Regions from separate parts of the Homo sapiens genome. Here all the other regions are linked to region 3. The links are contacts of gene promoters, found by promoter capture Hi-C in blood cells and fetal thymus (Javierre and others, 2016). All regions are on one chromosome and are shown on one strand. The core of a region is centred on a gene start or on the middle of the fragment in contact, and the rest is flanking DNA. Distances in the headings are between cores, read along the strand shown.

Region 1 (3,441 bases), core at 170-2,669, 94 kb after region 3:
GAATGTGGTTATAAGGAATTGGCTTCATTCACAGGTTATTCAAATACTGCAAATTTTATCACCAATTAGCTATGTGACTTGGTTTCCTTACCTATAACATGGAGAGGGCTGGGTTATCTGACCCACTGTCCCTAAGCCCCTTTCTGGATTCCACATGTCTAGTCTTTAAAAAAAAATTGTAGAAAGAGAGTCTTACTATGTTGCCCAAGCTGGTCTCGAACTCCTGGGCTCAAGAGATCCTCCCACCTTGACCTCCCAAAGTGCTGGGATTACAGGTGTGAGCCACTGCACCTGGCCCCTGACATGTCTAGTTTTAATTCTCTATTTTCTCCAACACACTTAGAATTTACAGTGATGGCAATCTTGATATTCTCCCAGGCAACTTTCTAATAGAAGTTATTACTTATCTTCAGCTTCACTTTATTATAATTTGCATTTTAAATTTTTTTAAGACTGTTAAGATTGCCATAACTTTACCAAGTGATTTGCAATTTACACTGCCTGCTAATTAACTCAGATGGCCATGGCAGGAACTGCCTCCCATCAGAAAGGCTGAATCACTCAAGCGCTCCCACCTTTCAAGGGCCAAGTGATTCACCAGCCAAGTTACTTTACAAATTGGGATGAGGAGCATAGGATATTAGACTTCCTTTTAGTTTTCATCCTTTCTGGTGATTTAGTTGTGGATTCTCTAACAGTGACTTATTTTTCCTTTGTTTTCTTTCCAAAATAATATGTACTTTCTGTAAGAAGTTCAAACTGTACATACTTATTGATACAGAAAGTGGACATTTTCCTCTGTTTCCCCCTTCCCAGAGAGAGCCACTCTGAACAGTGGTGAACATCCATATTGTTTTCTTCAGGTATATTAACATTCTTTTTAACAAAAAGATTGTGCTTACATATACTGTTTTGTAATGTGCTTTTGTCTCCTAGCAATATGTGTTGGAGATTTTTCCATTTCATATAGATAAGTCTGTCTCATTTTTAATGGCAACATGGATTTCCGTGGTATTATTATCTCAGAAGTTATTTAATTCATTTCCTCCAGTCTTATTCTAGGTACCTCCCAAAGACAAACTTAGTGACATGAGCTCAAGTAGGCTACTAGGAGGTGACCTCAGGAAGCTTGAATAAGGGAATGGCAAATAAGACAGGAAAAGGAGGAAAACAAATCAAGGATGTTTGGCGAGTGGATATCTGCAGTATAGGGGGTCTTCAAAATCACCCTCAGGTCCAATGATTCACCACAGAACTTGGAAAAACTGTTATTCTCATGGTTACAGTTTATTACAGAAAAAGCATACAGACCAAAATCAGCAAAGTGAAAGATTGCTGCTATGGTCTGAATGTTTTGTTCCCCCAAAATTCTTATGTTGAATCCTAATCCCCATGTGGGAGGTGATTAGACCATGAAGGCTCTGTCCTCATGAATGGGGTTGGTGCCCTTATAACAGAAACCCAAGAGAACTGTCTTGCTGCTTCTATTGCATGAGAAGGCACCACCTATGAAGGAGAGCAAGCCCTCACCAGACACTGAATCTGCTGGTACCTTGATCTGGGACTTCCTAGCTTCTGGAACCATTAGGAAATAAATTCCTGTTGTTTATAAGCCTCCCTGTTTATGGTAATTTGTTATAGCAGCCCAGCAGACTAAGAAAGGGGAAAGAGTCCTCTTTGTCATAGGAAAAAGTCCAAGAGAGACCAGATGCAAGCTTCCAGTTGTTCTCCTCAACTGGAGTTATACGAGCAGTGCCTAATTCTCCTTGCAAGGATGTGTGACAACACACTTAGGGTATTGCCACCCAAGAAGACTCACCTGAGCCTTGGTGTCCAGCATAGTTAGAGGACGTTGGTCATATAGTCATGGCTGACCATCTGGGTAGCTGAGCCTCCTTGCAGAGGTAGCTTGCAGAGGTCCAGCTAATGTTGAGTGGCCCAAGGTCCTCACCATAAATCACAGTTAGCACAGACAAGCTGGCATGGCTCAGGCAGGAAGCTGCAGGTGCTTGAGGAAGGACACTATCTATAGAAACCATGAGTAGCCTCCAAGGTGGGCTGAGGGGTAGGCAGGGCACCAACAGCCCCAGCTACACTCCCTCAGGGACAGTCTTGCCATTTCCCGTTTTTCATTCTTATAAACAATGCCCTGGTGCAGGGGTCAGCAAACTTTTCTATAAGGAGTCAGATAATCTTTTTTTTTTTTTTGTATTCCCTTTTGGCAATTTGTTTAATTGAGATAAAATTCACATAACTTAAAACTCACCCTTTTGGTGTATACGATTCAGTGCTTTTTAGTATATTTTCAAGATTGTGCAACCAACACCACTATCTAATTCCAGAACATTTTTATCACCCCAAAAAGGAGCCCTGTGCCAATTAGCTATCACACCCCATTCCCTCTTTCCTCTATCCTTGATAACCACTAATGGTAATTTCTGTCTCTAAAGATCTGCCTATTCTGGACATTTCATATAAATGGATCATAATATATGACCTTAAAAACTTGGTACATAGGCCAGCCATGGTGACTTATGCCTGTAATCCCAGCATTTTGGAAGGCCGAGGTGGGCAGATCACCTGAGGTCAGGAGTTCAAGACCAGCCTGCCCAATGTGGCAAAACCCTGTCTCTACTAAAAATACAAAAATTAGCCAGGCATGGTGGTGGGCACCTGTACCCAGCTACTTGGGAGTCTGAGGCAGGAGAATCACTTGAGCCCGGGAGGCAGAGGTTGCAGTGAGCCGAGATCACGCCACTGCATCCCAGCCTGGGTGACAACAGTGAAATTACAACTCAAAAAAAAAAAAAAAAAAGAAAAGAAAAAAAAAACTTGGACATAAATGTTTACAGTAGCATTATCCATAATAATAGTCAAAATGTGGAAACAACCCAAATGTCCATCATCTGATGAACAGATAAGCAAAACATGGCATATCCATACAATGGAACGTTAGCTGGCCATAAAAAGTAGCACTACAACATGGATGAACCAGACAGATAGCAGATATGTGAGGCTTTGAGAGCCACATGGCCTCCAAATTATTCAGCTGCTGTGGTCTGAATAGTTGTCCCCCACCCTGCCAAATTTGTATGTTGAATTCCTAACCCACAAAGTGATGGCATTAGGAGGCGGGACCTTTGGGAGATGATTAGGTCATGAAGGTTGGAGCCCTCATAATTGGGATTAGTGCCCTTATAGAAGATGCCCCAGAGAACTAGCCTGTCCCTTCCACCATGTGGGGACTCAGTGAGAAGATACCACCTATGAGGAAGCAGCTTCTCACCAGACACCGAATTTGCCAGTGGCTTGATCTTGAACTTCCCAGCCTCCAGAACTGTGAGCAATAAGTTTTTGTTGTTTATAAGCCACCCAGTTTATGGCATTTTGTTACAGCGGCCTGAATGGACTAAGACATCAACTCTGCCCTTTTTGCACAAA
Region 2 (3,816 bases), core at 136-2,635, 110 kb before region 3:
CTTTTCCTTTTTTTTAGACGGAGGCTTGCTCTGCCGCCCAGGCTGGAGTGCAGTGATGCGATCTCAGCTCACTGCAACCTTTGCCTCTTGGGTTCAAGGGATTCTCCTGTCTCAGCCTCCTGAGTAGCTGGGATTATAGGCGTCCACCACCACGCCCAGCTAACTTTTGTATTTTTAGTAGAGACGGGGTTTCACCATGTTGGTCAGGCTGGTCTCAAATTCCTGACCTCAGGTGATCCGCCTGCCTCGGCCTCCCAAAGTGCTGGGATTACAGGTGTGAGCCACTGCGCCCGGCCATATTTTATTTTTCTAGAGGTGGGGCTCTCCCTATGTTGCCTGGGCTGGTCTCAAACTCCCAGCCTTAAGTGATCCTTCTGCCTGGGCAAAGCACTGGTATTATAAAATGAGCCATCATGCCCAGCCTTCTTTTCTAACAAGAGTAAAACTGTTCCAAGGAAAAATATGTTGGGTTATTTTTCTATTGGCCTTCAGATGATCCAGACTCCCTTGTGACCTGTCTGTCTTGTGTTGCAGCCTCATCATGTTTTACTTCATTGCCTTAGCTGGAGCACACAAACGGGTGGTCATCCAGCTCCGAGAGCAGCTATCCCTGGTAAGGAAGCATAGCTCCAGAGGGTCATGGCTGGGGACATTTACCCAGGACACTGCAAGGAAAGTGCTGTTTTCCTGGGAGGGAGTGAAATTACTGCAGCCTTCTCTCACCACCACCTCCCCAAAACTCTGCCTTGAGGCCCAGCCGCGTCCAGCTTCATTAATTCACTGATTCATCCATTCCTTCAAGATGTGTATTAAGGGGGATGTGGTGGCTCATGCCTGTAATCCCAGCACTTTTGGGAGGCCGAGGCAGGCAGATTACTTGAGCTCAGGAGTTCAAGACCAGCCTGGCCAACATGGTGAAACCCCGTCTCTACTAAAAATACAAAAAGTAGTTGGGCGTGGTGGTGGGCACCTGTAATCCCAGCTACTTGGGAGGCTGAGGCAGGAGAATCCCTTGAACTCAGGAGGTGGAGGTCGCAGTGAGCTGAGATTGCGCTATTGCACTCCAGCCTGGGTGACAGAGTGAGACTCCATCTTAAAAATAAAAATAAAAAAAGATGTGTATTAAGTACCTACTCTGTGCCTTGTACTATGCTGGGTGCTGGGACGCTTTGGTGAACAAGAGACAAAGCTGCTGGGTAGTTAATAAGATAAATGCTGATTAATTATAGCTTCTATGAAGACAATAAAAACAAGGTAGAGTGACAAGCGGGCTATCAGTTACTGCAGATGCGGCTGTAGAAGGCTTCTTTGAGGAGGTGATTTTTTTTTATTTTTTTATTCAGGACGGGGTCTCACTCTCTCGCCCAGGCTGGAGTGCGATTGTGTGGTCATAGCTCACAGCAGCCTCAAACTCTTGGTCTCAAGCCATCCTCCCACCTTAGCCTCCCAAGTAGCTGGGACTACAGGCGTGCATCACCATGCCTGGCTAATTTTTAAATTTTTTATAGACATGAGGTCTCCCTATGTTGCCCAGGCTGGTCTTGAACTCCTGGGCTCAAGTGATTGTCCCCTCTCAGTTCCCCAAAGTGCTGGGATTACAGGCATGAGCCACTATGCCTGGACCCTAGCTGAGACTTGAATAATAGAGAGAGGAGCCCATTATCTGAGGTCCTATTTAAGGATGAAAGTAAGAGGCAAAGAGCACAGTAAAGAAATGAGCCAGGCACTTCAGGGGGACAGGAGGGAGGGGACAGTGTGGCCACAGGGTGGTGAGTGATGGGAAGAGGCAAGGTGATATTGTAATAGCAACCAGAGTCATCAAGTCACAGTGCCTTGAGGGCTCTGTTTAGAGTTTTATTCTGAGTGGGATGGGAAGCTGCTGAAGGGTTTGTAAGAGTCTACTGTGCATTTTTTTTTTTTTTTGAGACAGAGTCTTGCTCTGTCACCCAGTCTGGAGTGCAGTGCCGCAATTTCAGCTCACTGCAACCTCCACCTCCCGGGTTCAATTGATTCTCCTTCCTCAGCCTCCCAAGTAGCTGGGATTACAGGCACCCACCATCACAACCGGCTAACTTTTGTATTTTTAGTAGAGAAGGGGTTTCACCATGATGGCCAGTCTTTTTTTTTTTTTTTTTCCTTTGAGACAGGGTCTCACTCTGTCGCCCAGGCTGGAGTGCAGTGGTGTGATCTCAGTTCACTGCAACCTCCACCTCCTGGGTTCAAGCAATTCTCCTGCCTCAGCATCCCAAGTAGATGGGATTACAGGCACCTGCCACCACGCCCGGCTAATTTTTTGTATTTTTAGTAGAGACGGGGTTTCGGGGTTTCACCTTGTTGGCCAGGCTGGTCTCGAACTCCTGACCTCAGGTGGTCCACCTGCCTCGGCCTCCCAAAGTGCTGAGATTACAGGCGTGAGCCACCTCGCCTGGCCTAATTTTTGTATTTTTAGTAGAGGTGGGGTTTCACCACGTTGGTCAGGCTGGTCTGAAACTTCTGACCTCAGGTGATCCACCTGCCTTGGCCTCCCAAAGTGCTGGGATTACAGGTGTGAGCCACCTCACCCGGCCTAATTTTTGTATTTTTAGTAGAGATGGGGTTTTACTATATTGGTCAGGCTGGTCTCAAACTTCTGACCTCAGGTGATCCACCTGCCTCGGCCTCCCAAAGTGCTGGGATTACAGGCATGAGCCACCGTGTCCAGCTGTACTGTGCATTTTTTAAAAAAAGGATCGGCTGCTTTGTGGACAAGGGGCTGTGGAGCAGACACAATGACAGACCAGATGAGAGGCCATTACAATAGTCCAGTGGTTAGAATCCTCAGCCCTCAGTCTGGTAGGTAATGATGGTATTTGTTTCCAAATATATTAAATGTACATGTGAACTTATTATTTTTTAGGAAAGTCGTGACAAGTGCTACCTAATCCAGAAACTAACAGAAGCCCAAAGGGACATGAGGAACTAACTAGACTGAGCGTGAAGATGGTGCTGCCTGTTGCTTCTAAGCTGACCTAGTGATTCTGCTGAGCCTACAGAGTCTACCTGGGTTTTGAGTGGACATTTAAAAATATATTTTTCTTGAGTTTAGGCTTTTCCATATGTGCAGCTGTGTTTACCTAACCCAGCCCTTAATTAGGGCTTCAGTGACTTAGAAAAGCAGGGGAAACCCAAGGCTTTGCCTGCAGACCGGCCACTCTGTGACAACTCTACCAAAAACCAACAAGCCATTCAAGCTTTTACAAGAATGAAAGAGCGGAGACGGTAGTTTAGTATTTGAGCCACGAGTTTATGTGCACAAGTGTTTTGGGTTGTGGACTGAAGCTCAGCCTGTTAATCAGACCAGCCCATGAGTGTATAACAAACAGAATTGGAGGCTGGTTTCTTAAACACACACGTCCACATTTTTTAGGGTTGTTTTCCTGTGCTTACAATTTTTAATGCATGTGCCTTTATTTCACAAAACATGTGGCTGGGCGCAGCGGCTCACGCCTGTTATCCCAACACTTTGGGAGGCCGAGGCAGGCGGAGCACCTAAGTTGGGGAGTTCAAGACCAGCCTGACCAACGTGGAGAAACTCCGTCTCCACTAAAATACAAAATTAGCTGGGTGTGGTGGCACATGCCTGTAATATCAGCTACTCAGGAGGCTGAGGCAGGAGAATTGCTTGAACCCAGGAGGTGGAGTTTGCAGTGAGCTGAGATCACACCATTGCACTCCAGCCTGGGCAAAAAGAGCAAAACTCTCCCTAAAAAAAAAATGTAGAATATCTCTTAAGATTTCCGTTATGGTAAAAACCATATGCAATAAATACCTCATTGT
Region 3 (3,346 bases), core at 151-2,650:
TCTGGCTGGACAGGTGCTACCTAATAGGAGTGATCAAGGTACTGCAGGTTGAAATGAAATAACGCTTGTGAAGTGTTGAGGCGTGTATGCCTGCAGAATCATAAGCACTCAATATGCGTTACGTGCTATATGCTACAAACTAAATATATCATACTAAAAAATGTATAGGTCTGCTAGATTTTTAGACAAAAAATATATGCATCTGAATATCCATCTTTTGTTACTCCCATATTCATTTTCTCATTTATTCCCACAAATCAGCCCTGGAGGATAGGCAGGGTGGAGATTTTCTCCTGTTTTTACTGAGGAAAAAGAGGCACTGGGAGGTTAAAATTAAAATGCTGATAAGCTGGTGTCCGGCAACAGGAGATGACTGGGCATATTAAAAAGAAAACCGGCCCGGCGCAGTGGCTCACGCCCCTAATCCCAGCACTTTGGGAGGCCGAGGCAGGCAGATCACTTGAGGCCAGGAGTTCGAGACCAGCCTGGCCCACATGGTGAAACCCTTTCTCTACCAAAAATACAAAAATTAGTGGGCGTGGTGGCATGTGCCTGTAGTCCCAGCTACTCGGGAGGCTGAGACACGAGAATCCCTTGAACCTGGGAGGCGGAGGTTTCAGTGAGCCAAGATTACCCCAGTGCACTCCAGCCTGGGTGACAGAGTGACACCCTGTGTCAAAAATAAAATAAAATAAAATAAAATAAAATAAAATAAAATAAAATAAAATAAAATAAAATAAAATAAGAAATCCAGCGGAGGGCAATGTTCCACCTCGAATCTCTGAGTGGAGAGCCAGAGGCCTTGGGCTGGGAGGTTTGATGGAGGCCTCTGGGTCCAGGGCGCCCCAGCCACGAGGACAGGCAGGAGGGCGGCGGTGGACACGCCCCGGGGCGCACGCTCGCTGGCGGCCGCCTGCCCGTGGGCAGAGGAGCGCACGAGGCCGGGCACGACGCTGGGTGGCGCTGCCGGGCCGCCCCGCGCTAGACCTGTTGCGTCCAGGGCGCAACTCCGGCAGGTTTAGGGTAAAGGGGCGCTCCGCTCTCTCCGCGCGCCCCCTGCAGCCCTGGACGCAGCACCTCCGTTTGGGACGCCCTACGCCCACCTTAACTTGAGGCTCCCATCCACGCAGCCTCTGCAAGCCTCACCGCAACCGTGCTAGGCGCGTCGGGTGGGGCGGGAATAAAGTTTTTCCAACCCAGTTTGGGGAGAGGGCTGGATGGGAAGGACCCTCCCTGCTGCAGACTTCATGGCAGGCTGCACTGTGTCCCCTCGGCTCCACGGCTGCCCCGGGGGCGCTGCTTTCGGTAGGTGCCAGCCCCCGTGCCAGCAGGATGGGCTGACCTGTGTACCGCCCCCTCCCACCCCCTTCCCCATTCCCATCCCCTCCCCCGCCTCCTGCGCGCTCCGGCCCCGGCGTCTCCGGCCCCGCCTGCGCTGGGGTCGCTGCAGTCCCCGCAGCTGCCCCGGGCTGCTTGCCCAGGCGCCCCGGCCTTATTCCAGCCTGGGGAGCGCCTCGGTGGGGAGCACGGGACAGCGAGGGAGGCCGAGGCGGGGGCCCTGGGCGCCCGATATCTCCGAACCGGGGAGGCGGCCCCGATTCCGAGAGCCGGAACGCAGGGAAAGGCAAGGACGGGGCGGCCGGCGGAGGGGCGGGCGCCGCTCATCAGCCACGCCAGTCACGTCTGGGGCCACCGGCTGCCTTTTTCTTCCTTTCCCCCTTTGCTTTCTTCCCCCTCCGCTGTTGGCGAGGGCAAAGTGGCCGTGGCGGCGCCATGCCCGGGCCGGAGTGAGTGCGCGCGGGCGAAAATGGCGTACATCCAGGTAGGGCTGAGGCTGGGGGCAAGGTCCGGGGTGCGGGTAGGGGGTGCCGCGCCCCCTCCGGCTGGGAGCGCGCGGAAGGGAGGGCCCACGGCTAGGCTCCCACAAACTTGCTTCGAGAAAAAGGGTGCCCGTGCGCGGGCAACCTGTGCAGCAACAGGGGTGCGCCCCGGGAGGAGAGACTGGGGACCCCCAAACCCCGGGATGGAGGGTCCTATGTGTACTCTGCAACGCGCGCCCTTGCCTCTTGGGGAGGGAATGGGGGGTGGGGCGGACTTTTCTTCTCCCCTGCCCCCTCCCTCTCCTTGGCACCCCACCCCAGGGGAGGGGCCGTGGGGAGGGCGGCCCGGGGCGCGCCAGCCACCCGGCCCGCCAGCTGCCGTTGCCGTGGTGACGGCTCCGGCTAATTGGCCGGCGGAGCGAGCCTGAGGCAGCTGTTCCGACCAGGAGGGACAAGGACGTCGTCTCTCCTGGGCACTGGGTGCTGAGGGGTGGGGGACACCCAGAGGCCAGAGGCGCGCTGGTGAAGAGAAGGGAGCCTGTTACTTTACTCCGCTGCATTGGGGTCTGGGAGATGTGGACCCTCTTCACCTTGAAGAAACGTCCCCCAAGAATCCTTGGGCTGAAATAATTCTGAAATAATTTCTAAGCAGCCTTTTTTGGGGGGAGGGGGCGGAGGGGTGGGCCGGGCTTCTTGGTGAAAAGACCTTTCTCCTCTGCAAGAAGGGAAGTGACCGCAGGTCAGCGCCAAGGTCAAGCAGGCAGACCCGCAGTGAGACCCGTTGAGCTGCTTGCTTCTGGCGCTGGCGCCTCTGAGCTGGGCAGAGAAGCTTACAGACTCCCACGTCCAGGGTGCATCTTGGCTCACATCTTGTCCCCTCAGCCACAGCTGGGGGTGCTGCTGGTCCTCCCATTCCCCTCTGGGTCACATATCCCCTCATCGTGTCCTCAGACGCTTCAGCCTGCCGGGAACTCTGTGCTGTGTCACCTGGCGGAGCCTCTTCCATTCATCTCCTGCCTTAGATTCCCTGAATTGGCTTCCCTTTCGTGGAATCGCCAGTTTCTCTTCAAGTTCAATGAAGGTCACATTACTGTCCACCCACTGTGTGCTGAATGTTGTCCAGGGGCTATTGAGTAGTCGCCCAACAAACACTTGGGCGACCGCCTACTAAGTGCTGGCACTGGGGATACAGTGATGAAAACAGCACAGTTCCTGCCCCTCTGGGTGCGCAATTTAGTGAGAAATGAACATGATTACCGGCTCCTGGAGTTCTTAATGGCCGCCTTCAGCACAGAGAAATTAAGTGACTTGCCCAAGGCCACATAGCTGCTTAGGGGTCAAGGTGGGATCTCAAGAGGGGACTGTGGTAGATATGTTAAGCATCTCATATGGCGATGACCCAGTGATGTTGGTTTTCCTTCTAGAACAAGGTGTTAAACTTTGTTGTCCTGTAAAGTGCCAGATACTATTTTTTTTCTCTTGGAGGCTCACATGGTCTCTGTCACAACTATTCCACTCTGACTATA

The links. The method cuts DNA at HindIII sites, captures the fragments that hold promoters and counts their contacts. A CHiCAGO score of 5 or more calls a contact.
Region 1: a fragment that was not itself captured here is called in contact with the fragment with the promoter of SYT17 in region 3 in 1 of 17 cell types (M1 macrophages); the score reaches 5.1 in M1 macrophages.
Region 2: a contact is called between a fragment that was not itself captured here and the fragment with the promoter of SYT17 in region 3, in 1 of 17 cell types (monocytes). The highest score is 5.9, in monocytes.

The regions. Positions count from the first base shown.
Region 1 is chr16:19,260,844-19,264,284 of GRCh38, forward strand. All of the region lies in intron 7 of SYT17 (synaptotagmin 17), which reads left to right. Among named protein-coding and RNA genes, the nearest start is that of CLEC19A, 23 kb to the right of the region's middle. The HindIII fragment of the contact is 587 bases long and covers 1,127-1,713 here.
Region 2 is chr16:19,058,882-19,062,697 of GRCh38, forward strand. It overlaps TMC7 (transmembrane channel like 7), which reads left to right. Exons shown (of 16, transcript NM_024847.4): 15 at 535-613; 16 at 2,897-3,816. The coding sequence ends at 2,962. Among named protein-coding and RNA genes, the nearest start is that of COQ7, 6.8 kb to the right of the region's middle. The HindIII fragment of the contact is 3,685 bases long and covers 1-3,228 here.
Region 3 is chr16:19,166,840-19,170,185 of GRCh38, forward strand. SYT17 (synaptotagmin 17) reads left to right here and starts at 1,401. Exons shown (of 8, transcript NM_016524.4): 1 at 1,401-1,822. The coding sequence starts at 1,808. RefSeq lists a silencer at 797-1,046 and an enhancer at 1,238-1,985. The HindIII fragment of the contact is 5,386 bases long and covers 1-2,647 here.